2 separate regions of the Homo sapiens genome follow, and region 1 is linked to region 2. The links are contacts of gene promoters, found by promoter capture Hi-C in human tissues and cell types (Jung and others, 2019). All regions are on one chromosome and are shown on one strand. Each heading gives the region's core, a stretch centred on a gene start or on the middle of the fragment in contact. The rest is flanking DNA. Distances are from core to core; before and after follow the strand shown. Region 1 holds the start of POLA2 (DNA polymerase alpha 2, accessory subunit). Region 2 holds the start of FOSL1 (FOS like 1, AP-1 transcription factor subunit).

What was found. Contacts are between HindIII fragments. The study calls those that stand out against the background at their distance.
Region 1: the fragment with the promoter of POLA2 here is called in contact with the fragment with the promoter of FOSL1 in region 2 in 1 of the 25 tissues and cell types used here (dorsolateral prefrontal cortex).

Annotation. Positions count from the first base shown.
Region 1 is chr11:65,257,620-65,263,858 of GRCh38, forward strand. It overlaps POLA2 (DNA polymerase alpha 2, accessory subunit), which reads left to right and starts at 4,343. Exons shown (of 18, transcript NM_002689.4): 1 at 4,343-4,752. The coding sequence starts at 4,674. RefSeq lists enhancers at 3,481-4,368, 4,363-4,612, 4,369-5,254. The HindIII fragment of the contact is 14,798 bases long and covers 1-6,239 here.
Region 2 is chr11:65,899,123-65,905,283 of GRCh38, forward strand. FOSL1 (FOS like 1, AP-1 transcription factor subunit) reads right to left here and starts at 1,266. Exons shown (of 4, transcript NM_005438.5): 1 at 1,119-1,266. The coding sequence starts at 1,217. RefSeq lists silencers at 137-364, 330-449, 1,058-1,657 and a cis regulatory region at 4,004-4,384. The HindIII fragment of the contact is 4,995 bases long and covers 1-2,088 here.

The DNA.
Region 1 (6,239 bases), core at 3,093-5,592, 640 kb before region 2:
ACAGAAAATTCAAAAGTTAGCCGGGCATAGTGGCGTACACCTATAGTTCCAGCTACCTGGGAGGCTGAGGTGGAAGGCTTGAGTGACTGTAATCACACCACTGCACTCCAGCCTGGTCAACAGAGTGAGATCTTGTCTAAAAAAAAAAAAAAAATTTACAATCCAAAAGCCAGTAACTTTCCTTTAACTGGCAATGACAAAACAAAAAACAATACGGGAGAAACATTACATTCATAAAAGCAACAGAAGATATTGTGTCAATAAATTGAACAAAAACAGGGTCTATATGGGAAAAACTATAAAATTGGATTGATAGACAAAGACAAAAAGCCTAAAAAAATGAAGAGATATACCAGGATCCTGTTTGGAATGCTTAAAGTATTCATTTCTCCTAAATATATAAAAATATTTAAGTCCTTCCTATCAGAATGGAGGGGGATAGGATATACTGTATAAAATGACTTTAAAAGTTTAAAATGGTTTCCTAAAAACTAGGCCAGGCACAGTGACTCACACCTGTAATCCCAGCACTTTGGGAGGCCAAGGCAAGAGGATTGCTTGAGCCCAGGAGTTCCAGACAAGCCTGGGCAACACAGCAAGACCTTGTCTCTATTAAAAAACAAAAATATTAGCCAGGTGTGCGTGGTGGTGTAATCCCAGCACTCTGGGAGGCCGAGACTGGTGGATCACCTGAGGTCAGGAGCTTGAGACCAGCCTGGCCAACATGGTGAAACCCCATCCCTACTAAAAATACAAAACTAGCTGGGTGTGGTGATGGGCGCTTGCATTCCCAGCTACTCGGGAGGCTGAGGCATGAGAATCGCTTCAATCTGGGAGGCGGAGGTTGCAGTGAGCCGAGATCGCTCCACTGCACTCCAGCCTGGGCAACAGAATGAGACACTGTCTCAAAAACAAAAACAAAAACAAAAACAAAAACAAAAAAACAGCCAGGTGTGGTGGTGCGTGCCTGTAGTCCCCGCTACTTAGGAGACTGAGGTGGGGGGATGGCTTGAACCCAGGAGATTGAGGCTGCAGGGAGCTTGATCACACCACTGCATTCCAGCCTGGGCAACAAAGTAAGATCCTGTCCCCCCCCAAAAAAAATAGTAAAATGCTTCAACAGTTTTGGGAAGTTACTGTAAAGCTACCTGGGGCAAACACTACTAAGTGCTTACCTAGTATTAACTCCTTTCTTAGTAACAAAATTTGTATATTGATGGGGTAGCAATGTGTTTCCTCAATAATATTACAATATAACTTTTAAACCTATAAGGAGGCTTTCCCAGCCTCCTTTAAAGGTATGGCTATGTGGCTAAAGTATAAGCAAAAGTGGTTGGGAAGGACTTCTAGAAAGACTCCTCTTCAAAAATGTATAGACAACGGTTTGCAAAAGTCATTTTTTTGTTTCTTTTTTCCCTTTTCATTTCATTTCTCTTTTCACTCTCTTTTCTTGCTTTATGTTTTTAAAATTTTATTTGCCCTTTCTTCTTCCTACTTTCTGCTACCTGGAATGGAATGTGAATCTGATGGCTGGAATTCCAGAAGCCATCTTGGACAATGAGGTGACTGTAAGGATGGAGATTAATTCGAGGACAGTGGAGTGGAACGATGGAGGCCTGATGAACGTGAAGCCACCATTTTAGCCCTGGGCTACCTATCTCTGAAATTATTTTATCTGACGAGAGAAATAAACTTCTATTTTGTCTCAGCTACTATTGTTTTAGGACTTGGCTATGTCACAGATCTAAAACCCACTTGATTTACTCCTGCAATCAAAATATATTGACACAGAAAAGACAACAAATAAATCAGTGGAATAAAACAGAAAATCCAGAAACAGATTCAAGTGTTTATGGGGACTTGATACATGAAAGATCACAATTCAAGTCAGTTGAAGAATGTTTTATTTACTAAGTATAACTGCTGACATGCTGGCTGTTTGTCAGGAATAAAACAAAGCTAAATCCTTCCTCACATCACAAATAAGATTAATTCTAGGTGGATTAGCGAACTAAAGGCAAAACGTAAGTAAAATTAATAAAACAAAAATTGGAAGAATATTTGCATAAGCTTAGGTCGAGGAGACCTTATTAAACAAAGCAGGAAACCTAAAACCCATACAGGAAAAGAATTGCACAGTGTTGTGTGGTAGAAAAAAAAACCCACAAAGTTAAAAGACAGGTTGGGAAAAATATGTATGTAACACATTTGATATCCATTGGTTATTGCTGATGGTGGGAAACTGCAAACATTTTCCGTAAAGAGCCAGAGAGTAAATATTTGAGGCTTAAGGGTGTGAACCCCAAAAGAGGTTCATGATGGATCCGGAGTGGCTAACTAGGCCTAAATTCAAAATACAGCCAAGCAGCCATTGGCTGACTAGAGGTCACACATACTTCGGTTTTTGTTTGCTTTTTTTTTTTTTTAGGCGGAGTCTCGCTCTGTTGCCCAGACTGTAGTGCAGTGGCACAATCTCGACTTACTGCAAGCTCCGCCTCCCGGGTTCACGCCGTTCTCCTGCCTCAGCCTCCCAAGTAGCTGGGACTACAGGTGCTCGCCACCACGCTAGGCTTTCTTTTTTTTTTCTTTTTTTTTTTTTTAGTAGAGACGGGGTTTCACCGTGTTAGCCAGGATGGTCTCGATCTCCTGACCTCGTGATCCTCCCGCCTCGACCTCCCAAAGTGCTGGGATTACAGGCGTGAGCCACCGCACCCGGCCTTTGTTTGCTTTTTGAGACACGATCTTGCTCTGTCGCCCAGGCTGGAGTGCAGTGAGGCGATCATGACTCACTTCAGCCTCGACCTCCCGAACTCAAGCGCTCCTCCAGCCTCAGCCCCCAGAGTGGCTGAGATCACAAGAACCCGCCACCACCGCCCGCTAATTTTTTGTAGAGAAGGGGTTTCGCCACGTTGCCCAGGCCGATCTTGAACTCCTGGGCTCAAGTTAAGGGAGGAGACCACCCCTCATATTGTCTTACGCCCAATTTCTGCCTCCAAAGAAAGAAAAAGTAAAACTAAAAGGCAGAAATGAAATCCACAAGCAGACAGCCCGGCCTCACACCCTAGGCTTGGTAAAGATGGACCCCTGACCTAATCAGTTATGTTATCTATAGATTACAGACACTGTATAGAAAAGCACTGTGAAAATCCCTATCCTGTTTTGTTCTGATCTAATTACTGGTGCATGCAGCCCCCAGTCACGTACCCCCTGCTTGTTCAATTGATCACGACCCTCTCAGGCGCACCCCCTTAGAGTTGTGAGCCCTTAAAAGGGACAGGAATTGCTCATTCGGGGAGCTCGGCTGGTGAGACAGGAGTCTTGCCGATGACCCCAGCCGAATAAACCCCTTCCTTCTTTAACTCGGGTGTCTGAGGAGTTTTGTCTGTGGCTCGTCCTGCTACAAAGTGATCCGCCTGCCTCGGCCTCCCAAATGCTGGGATTACAGGCGTGAGTGACCGCACCTGGCCTGGGATGGACATTTTAAAGGTTCCTGATACATATTGCTAAATTGTTTTCTCGAAACGCTCTATACCATCCCACCAGCATTGTATGACGCCTACGGTTGAGATTTTTGGCTCAAAGAATTACGGTGTATTTCAAGGGGAGAACCCTCTTCTCATCTTACCCCTAAACTCTATCCTTGAGTGACCTACCTTCACTCCCAAGCCTCCAGTCACCCACTGGGAATCTCTACCTGGAAATCCCAGAGGCACTCAAACTTAACGTGTCCAAAACTAAATTATCCGTCACCTTCCCACCTCATATCCCCCCAAATGCCCCAGATTCAGAAAACATACCCATCACTGTGGCTGGCACCACGGTGATAAGCACGATAATAACCATGGCAACCAGATTCCCTACTGAAGCCATTCTTTTAGGATGAACCAAGGGCACAACAGGCAGAGATGACAAGGGGAATGGAGAAGGGGGTACAGTAAGTTTTAGATAGTCGAAGGCACGCGCACGACAACGCCTGCGCACCACGGAACAGGGCAAAAGGGTGACAAACATGCGCCACTGAGTTTTATCGAGCAGCCGATGCCCAGAAAACAGGCATCCGCACACAGACTCAGTTTCCTTGTAGGCAACTCCCGGGCGTTGCGAGTCACAACCGGCATTCTCGCGCCGTGAGAGAGAACTGCGCAGCTGCTGACTGGCGGGCCGCCAGGCGCGTGCGTAGAGACGCCCACACGCCCGCTGATGCGCACGCGCCCTGGGCCGCGCGTGCGCGCGTGGGGTTCCGGAATGAGCCGGGGAAAGCAAGGGGAAGGTTTGGGGTTGGCTCCCGGTTTCGCGCATGCGTGCACTGCACAAACCATTTGGCGGGTTTTTCCGGCCACTCAGTTCTGCCACCGTCACTGAGAAGCTCAGCGGTAGCTTTTGGGAAGCAGGACGTTCTCACCAGGAGAGCGTCCTCTCGAGATTTCTGCTCCCTCCATTCAGGGCGTTTGGGAGCCACCCCTTCATTTTTTAAAAAAAGTATTTCTCTGTGACCGACGGCCGGGGCCTTCTGACGGTCTGAGGTCTTGCTTGGGCCAGTCACCTCCTGTCACGGTCCGCGGAGGGGGGAAGGATAAGAGGGCGAGGAGCTCATCGCTCGCCACCCCCGTGGGCTTCTTGGGCGCAGGTCGGAGCTGGGTGGGCCGGCTCCCCGGCCCCTGGCTTGGGCGACCATGTCCGCATCCGCCCAGCAGCTGGCGGAGGAGCTGCAGATCTTCGGCCTAGACTGCGAGGAGGCTCTAATTGAGAAATGTGAGTCCCGCACCCCTCCCGCCCTGCAGCCGTGCTCCACGCTCTCGCCCGAGTTCCTCGGCGCCTAGAACCGAAAGTGGAGCGCTTCCAATTTCCACTTCCCCTGGAGCAGAGTTCTCGGTGGCTGTGAGATGAAGAATCAAACTTGAGTTTTGAGATTTAGGATGTGGGGACTTTGAAATGCCCACCGGGTACCGCTTGGATGCCAAATCAAAAATAGGAATATGCAGCACGATTTTAAACCAACTCGAAGTTCCCGAAAGGCGGAATTGGGATGTGCTAGATAGAGACTAGGCACTGGTGGCACCTGAGTTTGGAAATTGTTGAAGCCCCGGTAACAAAGCAACAGATGTGGGGGTTTTGAAATGTAGCTTTTTATTCTTGGCTCCTCCCTTTCCAGCCTACACCTTAAACCTCTGCTGATCCATCAGTTATTTTATCATAGCTGTTGGTGGTCTGTGCAAATATGAATCCCTTGAGGTAGGTTCCTAAAATTGAATTTGAGCTGTGGAAGGAGCTTTAGGGAGCTTTACAGATGGAGAAACAGACAAGGAAAGCTAATTGCCTGAGCTGTCTGTGAAGCCAGGTGTCCTGCCTTGGAGTCCCGTGCTGCATCATACGGGTCCATCGTGTTGGTCAAGCTGTAGAGCAGTGTAAGGAGTCATTTGAAGCAAAGCCTGGGAGATGTGGAAGTTCTAGAATCGGTATGAATGTGCACCTGCCTTAACCACTCAACACTTTGAACTTCTTATATACAAAAAGATAACGAAACGTTAATTTATGGTGAGAAATTCCTTTCAGAAACCAGAATACTTCAAGTCTTCATGCCCAGTGCCTTCTCTCTCTCTCTTTTTTTTTTTTTTTTTTTTTGACAGTCTTGTTTTATCACCCAGGCTGGAGTGCAGTGGTGCAATCTCGGCTCACTTCAGCCTCCGCCTCCCAGGTTCAAGCGATTCTCCTGCCTCAGCCTCCCAAGTAGCTGGGATTACAGGCGCCCGCCACCAGGCCCGACTAATTTTTTTTTGTACTTTTAGTAGAGAAGGGGTTTCACCATGTAGGCCAGACTGCTCTCGAACTCCTGACCTCAAGTGATCCACCCACCTTGGCCTTCCAAAGTGCTGGGATTACAGGCATAAGCCAGCAGGCTCGGTCCTTCTCTTTTTAAAAGAAGACTAGCCAGGTGTGGTGGCTCACGCCTGTAATCCCAGCATTTTGGGAGGCCAAGGCAGGTGGATAATCTGAAGTCGAGAATTTGAGACCAGCCTGACCAACATGGAGAAACCCTGTCTCTACTAAAAATACAAAATTAGTCGGGCGTGGTGGCGCATGCCTGTAATCCCAGCTACTCAGGAGGCTGAGGCGGAAGAATCGCTTGAACATGAGAGGCAGAGGTTGTGGTGAGCCGAGATCACACCATTGCACTCTAGCCTGGGCAACAGGAGCGAGACTCTGTCTCAAAAAAAAAAAAAAGACTTAAGTGGAAAACC
Region 2 (6,161 bases), core at 16-2,515:
GCTATCTGAGGAGTGGGTTGGGATGGGGCTCAGTGTTCTGGGAGAAGTGGGTTCTAGCTCTGCCGCTGGGCCCTGGGTGTGGGCGCCCAATCGTCCGGGAAGCGCCCACAAGCCCAGGCAAGTCCCGACAGCGGTAGCCCGAGCCCAAGCGCTGCGGGCCCGGCGTCCCAGTGACCCCAGTTCCGGGTCCGAGGCACCGCCGGCGGCATCTCCCACTCCCGGGCCCGGGCCGCTCCAGGCCAGGAAGGGAGGGACGCCCCGGGTGACTCAGCCGCCGTGACTCGGCCGCCGTGACTCGGCGGAACGGACGCCCCTCCTTCCCTCCCCTGTCGACACGTGCTCGCAGCCCCTCGACAGGAAATGGGCACCTGCAGCCTCCCGGGTGCCCCCCGGCGGGCAGCGGGCGCCGTTAGGGGCTGAGAGTGGGGTCGCGAGAGTCGCCCGCAGCCTGACCCCGCGCACGTCCCGGAACCTCGAGGTCTCTATTCGCCGCATTCGGCAAAGGGATCGAGGGCCGGTCTCCGGGGACCTGGCAGGTTCCACTGCCCGGACCCCCCTGGACTCCCCAGGCCGAGAAACGATAGGGACTTGGCGACGGAGGGGCGAAGGACAGACAGACGGACGGACACGCGGAGGGTCGCAGACCGGGCCGGGACTCCCACCCTGGCCCAGCTGCTCTCCCGACGGATCCCGCCTCCCTCCCGTGTGGGGACCCTCACCCCAGCCCAGACTCCAGATCCCAGGAATTCAGCCCGAAGCGGAGAGACCCTCCTAGCCTTCGAGGCGACCACCCTAGGCGCCCACGCCCCTTCTGAAGCAGGGTGGACGCAGAAGTCAGAGGTGGGCAGGAGGAGAGAAAGCGGGCACGGAGACGGAGGGACGGACGCGGACGGCGAGGGAGAAGGGGGCGGCTGGGAGAAGGGGAGTTCGCGGGTCTCTGCTGCCCGCTGCGCGGTGGGGGCAACTGGCCCCGGACGGCGAGGGGCAGGATCCTCGCCCCAGCCCCCAGCCCGGCCCCGACTCCGGTTCCCCGCTCCAGTCCCGGAGCGTGCGGGAGTTGACCCCGGCCTCCCACGCGCGGTCCTCCCGTGGGACCACCGGCGTCGGGCCCCACTCACCTGCTGGGCTGCCTGCGCTGCGGCCGGGGGCTGCGCGGGGCCGCCGTACCCGCCGCCGTTCCCGGAGCTCGGGCCGGGTTCCCCGAAGTCTCGGAACATGCCCGGGGCTGGCGGCTCTGCGGGGTACACGGCTGCTGGGTTCTGACTCACCCGCGCCGTGCGGAGTCTTTTCTTTTTATGAATGAAAAGTTCTCGGGCTGAACCACTGCGACCGCGGGGGGTGGGGGCGTTGCAGCGGCGCGGTCACCTCCAGGCTCCACCCCCGAGACGCGCCGCCTTGGCCCGTCGGTCCCGAACTTGGCGACGCCTCCCCAAGTCCGGCTGCAGCCTTTTCACCGGGATGGGCCCGGCTCGGCGTTCCCCGGAGGCTGCGGGCCCGCCCCCCTGACGTAGCTGCCCATACATGGTGTAACTTCCTCGCCGCGCCCAGGTGGAGCCCCGGGTTCCCCTGCGGACTGACGCACCTGCCAGAGCCCGCGCCCCGCCCCAGCCCTCTCGAGGCCTGGGCTAACCTCCGTTTCTGCTCCCACAAAATAGCACGAAAGAATCACATCTCTAGGAGCCACGCCAACCGCCACCCAAAGCTTCGTGGAGTGAGGTCTTTCCACTGGCCTTGTTTTAAGGCTTCGAGTATATGAAAAGTGAATAAATGACAAACCAGGGTTACAAAAATGGTGGCATATTTTATTTTACTTTATATTTTTGAGACCGGGTCTCTGTCACCCAGGCTGGAGTGCAGTGGCTCGATCTCGGCGCACTGCAGGCTCAACTTCCTGAGCTAAAGGGATTCTCCTGCCTCAGCGCCCCCTCCAAGTAAGTGGGACTACAGGCGCGCGTCACCACACCCAGGTAATTTTTGTGTTTTTTGTAGGGATTGGGTCTCGCCGTATTGCCCAGGCTGGGTGGTATATTTTAAATGTTTGCGATAAGGTAATGCTTTGAACTAACCCCACATAAAATGCAATATAATAGTATTACTCAGGATAATTTCAGGAGCTATAACGAGTTTTAATTCAGGGCCACTACAGGTGTCCTGAGGTCTGATAAACGCCATCTTCATTACGGTCAGTGCCTTTCGGAGGCTTGTGGCCACCAGACTTGTTTGGAGAGTATGTCAAAGGTGAGTGAATGTGAGGCAGGTATCATCCTCATCTCTGTTTTACAGATGGGGAAACTGAGGCTGGGAGATGCTGAAATGAATTGCTTGAAGTCGCTAAGTGAGTAGCTGGCACAGGTTGCCAAGTCACAGCCGTGGGCACTCCAAGCCCAGGCTCAGCCAAGATTTTCAAAGCCCTTACACCTTCACAGACACCTTGTCGCACATCCAGAATGTTAGTGCTGGGCACCATCCCAAAGCTTCTCTCTGATTACTTCCATCATAGATGAGGAAACTGAGGCCCAGATGGAGTACTGAGCTGTCAGTTGTCACACGACTACAGAAAGAGGGCTGGGGCCAGGTGTGGTGGCTCATGCTTGTAATCCTAGCACTTTGGAAGGCCAAGGCAGAAAGAACCATTTGAGACCCCATCTCTACAAAAAATTATAAAATTTTCTGGACATGGTGGTACGCCTGCCTTGTGGTCCCAGCTGTTCTGGAGGCTGAGGCGGGAGGATGGCTTAAGCCAGGGAGGTTGAGGCTGCGGTGAGCTGTGACTGCGCCACTGCAGTCCAGCCTGGGGGACAGAGCAAGACTCAAAGTAAATAGATCAAGAGAGGGCTGGGCTCTCCTGCTTCTCCATCGGTCCTTCCATTTCATCAGCTCTAGCTTTGCCCTCTGGGCTACTTTCCTTGGGAACACAGGCCAGAAGCCTGTGGGTGCACTCAGGACTTAGAGCCAGGAAGTCCAGATTGCCCCTGGGGTTCTAGTCCCAGAGCTACCATTTTCTGTCTGTGTGACACTGGGCAGGTCACCTTCCTTCAACTGGGCCTCCCTGCTGATCTCACAGAGCTGTTGTGGGATCAAGTGAGATCACAGATGTGAAAATGCTTTGTAAGCTATAAAGTGTTATGCACTCAGAAAGTGGTTACCAGCCTGGTGCCTCTCCTTTGCCTTTGAGCGACCCAATGCTTGTCACCCTCTTGTCATCATCATCTCTGTGTGTGTGTGTGTGTGTGTGTGTGAGAGAGAGAGAGAGAGAGAGAGAAAGAGAGAGAGAAAGGAGAGGAGAGTGTTTTTGAGGCAGTATGATCCGTGGACAGAACACCCGTGCTGGGGTCAGACAGCTCTGGGGTCTGGGTTTGAATGTGGTTAGGCTGCTCACCAGTTGTGTGACCTAGGTGAGGCACACAATCTCTCAGAGCCTCTTTCATTATCTGTGAAATGGAGACATAATGATAACTATCTCAAGGGTTGTTGGAGGACACAAGTAATGTCACATGCTTAGCACAGCACATAGTAAGAATTTGACACATAGGCTGGGTGCCGTGGCTCACGCCTGTAATCCCAGCACTTTGGGAGGCTGAGGCAGGTGGATCACGAGGTCAGGATTTCGAGACCAGCCTGACTAACATGGAGAAACCCCGTCTTTACCAAAAATACAAAAGTTAGCTGGGCATGGTGGCCCATGCCTGTAGTCCCAGCTGCTTGGGAGGCTGAGGCAGGAGAATCGCTTGAACCCGGGAGGCGGAGGTTGCAGTGAGCCAAGATTGCGCCATTGCACTCCAGCATGGGCAACAGAGTAAGACTCCGTCAAAAAACAAAACAAAACAAAACAACCCAGGGGTGAGAGCCTTTGGGACTGATCACACATGAAGGCACTCACACAGCACATGTGCACACACACTGATACCTCAACTTCTTGGCAGAGCCCAAGCTGGACAGGTCAAGTGTGACACAGGTAACCAGGGGAGGGGTGACACAGGTCAGCCTTGACTGCATTCACTTGCCTGCTCCAGAAACATCACCCTGCACCTGACCCCACCGCCCCCAAGCAGTGGATGCTGGGGCCACTGGGGCAGCTGAGGGAGCAGGGATTCAGGTCTGGGGTGTGTGTGTGTGTGTTACATGACTTTGAAAGTCTCTTCCTGCTCTAACCGTCACTGGAGCCACAAGGAGGTCCTTTCAGAGGGAGCACATTCCAACCTCCTCAGTCACTAACCCCCGCCTTGTGGCTGCAGAAACGTTCCTGGCCTCTGACCTCACCAGCTTCCACCCAGGGAGGCCAGGAGAGAACCCCAGGGGGCCACAGCCATCGCTGGAAGTTTGGGGGCAGGGAGGCCTGAGGGACCCTGCCACTGTGCCTTGGTGGCTCTGTAAGACTGGCTCAGTCCCTTCCCATCTCTGAGCCCCAGAGAATCCCTGCCTTTTGGGGCTGCAGTGAAGGAGAGGAGGCTTGGCACCCTGTGCATTCTCAGCATGGCCAGGGCATTGGAGGTGATATTTATGTTTATCAGTTTCTATTCACTCTTTAATTGAAGTCTATGTTGTTTTTGTTTGTTTGTTTGTTTGTTTGGTTTGAGATAGGATCTCACTCTGATGCCTAGATGCCTAGGCTGGAGTGCAATGGCAGGATCGCAGCTCACTGCAGCCTCAACCTTCTGGGCTGAAGCGATCCTCCCTCCTCAGTCTCCCGAGTAGCTGGGGCTACAGGCGCGTGCCACTACGCCCAGCTAATTTTTTTTGGCTCAAGCAATCTGCCTGCCTCGGTCTCACAAAGTGCTAGGATTACAGGTGTGAGCCACCGCACCTGGCCTTTGAAGTTTACATTTTTACTTGAGATTAAATTCATGTAACAAACAATTAACTACTTTAAAGTGTACACTTCAATGCCATTTATTACATTCACAATGTTGTACAACCACCACCTTTCTTTAGTTTCAAAACTTCATCACTCCAGAAAACACCCCACACCTATGAAGTAATTACTCCCTATTTCCCCCTTCCCTCATCCCCTGGTATCCACTAATTTGCTTCCTGTCGCTATGGATTTGCCCATTCTGGGCATTTCAAATAAATGGACTCATTCATATATTATGTGGTCTTTTGTCTGACTTCTTTACTTAGCATAACATTTTTGCTTTTTTTTTCTTTCTTTCTTCTTCTTCTTTTTTTTTTTTTTTTAGATGGAGTCTTGCTGTTGCCCATACTGGAGTGCAGTGGCCCAATCTTGGCTCACCGCAGCCTCGGCCTCCTGCACTCCTCAAGTGATCCTCCTGCCTCAGCCTCCCAAACTGCTGGGATTCCAGGTGTGAGCCACCGCACTGGGCCAGCATAACATTTTCTTTTCTTAGTATTATTATTTTTTTTAAAAACGGAGTTTCGCACTGTGGCCCAGGCTGGAATGCAGTGGCATGATCTCTGCTCACTGCAAGCTCCACCTCCTGGGTTCACAGCATAACATTTTCAAGGCTCATTCATGTTATAGTATGTATCAGTACTTTGCTCATTTCTATGGCTGAGTATATATAACCATTTATTTATTTATTTTTGAGATGGAGTCTTGCTCTGTCGCCCAGGCTGGAGTGCAGTGGCGCGATCTCCGCTCACTGCAAGCTCCGCCTCCCGGGTTCACGCCATTCTCCTTCCTCAGCCTCCTGAGTAGCTGGGACTACAGGCGCCTGCCACCACGCCCGGCTAATTTTTTGTACTTTTAGTAGAGAAGGGGTTTCACTGTGTTAGCCAAGATGCTCTCGATCTCTTGACCTTGTGATCCGCCTGCCTTGGCCTCCCAAAGTGCTGGGATTACAGGCATGAGCCACCGCGCTGGGCGTTTTTTGGACAGATATCTATTCAAATCTTTACTTTTTTTTTTTTTTTTTGTAGAAATGAGGTCTCAATATATTGCCCAGGCTAGTCTCAAATTCCTGGCCTCAAGTACTTCTCCTGCCTTCACCTCTCTTCACGCTGAAATGACAGGTGTGAGCCACTGCTCCCAACCATTGCCCAGACTGGAGTGCAGTGGTACGATCTTGGCTCACTGCAGCCTCCACCTCCTGGGTTCAATTGAGTCTCCTGCCTCAGTTTCCCAAGTAGCTGGGATTACAGGCATGTGCCACCATGCCCGGGTAATTTTTGTACTTTTAGTAGAGACAGGGTTTCACCAT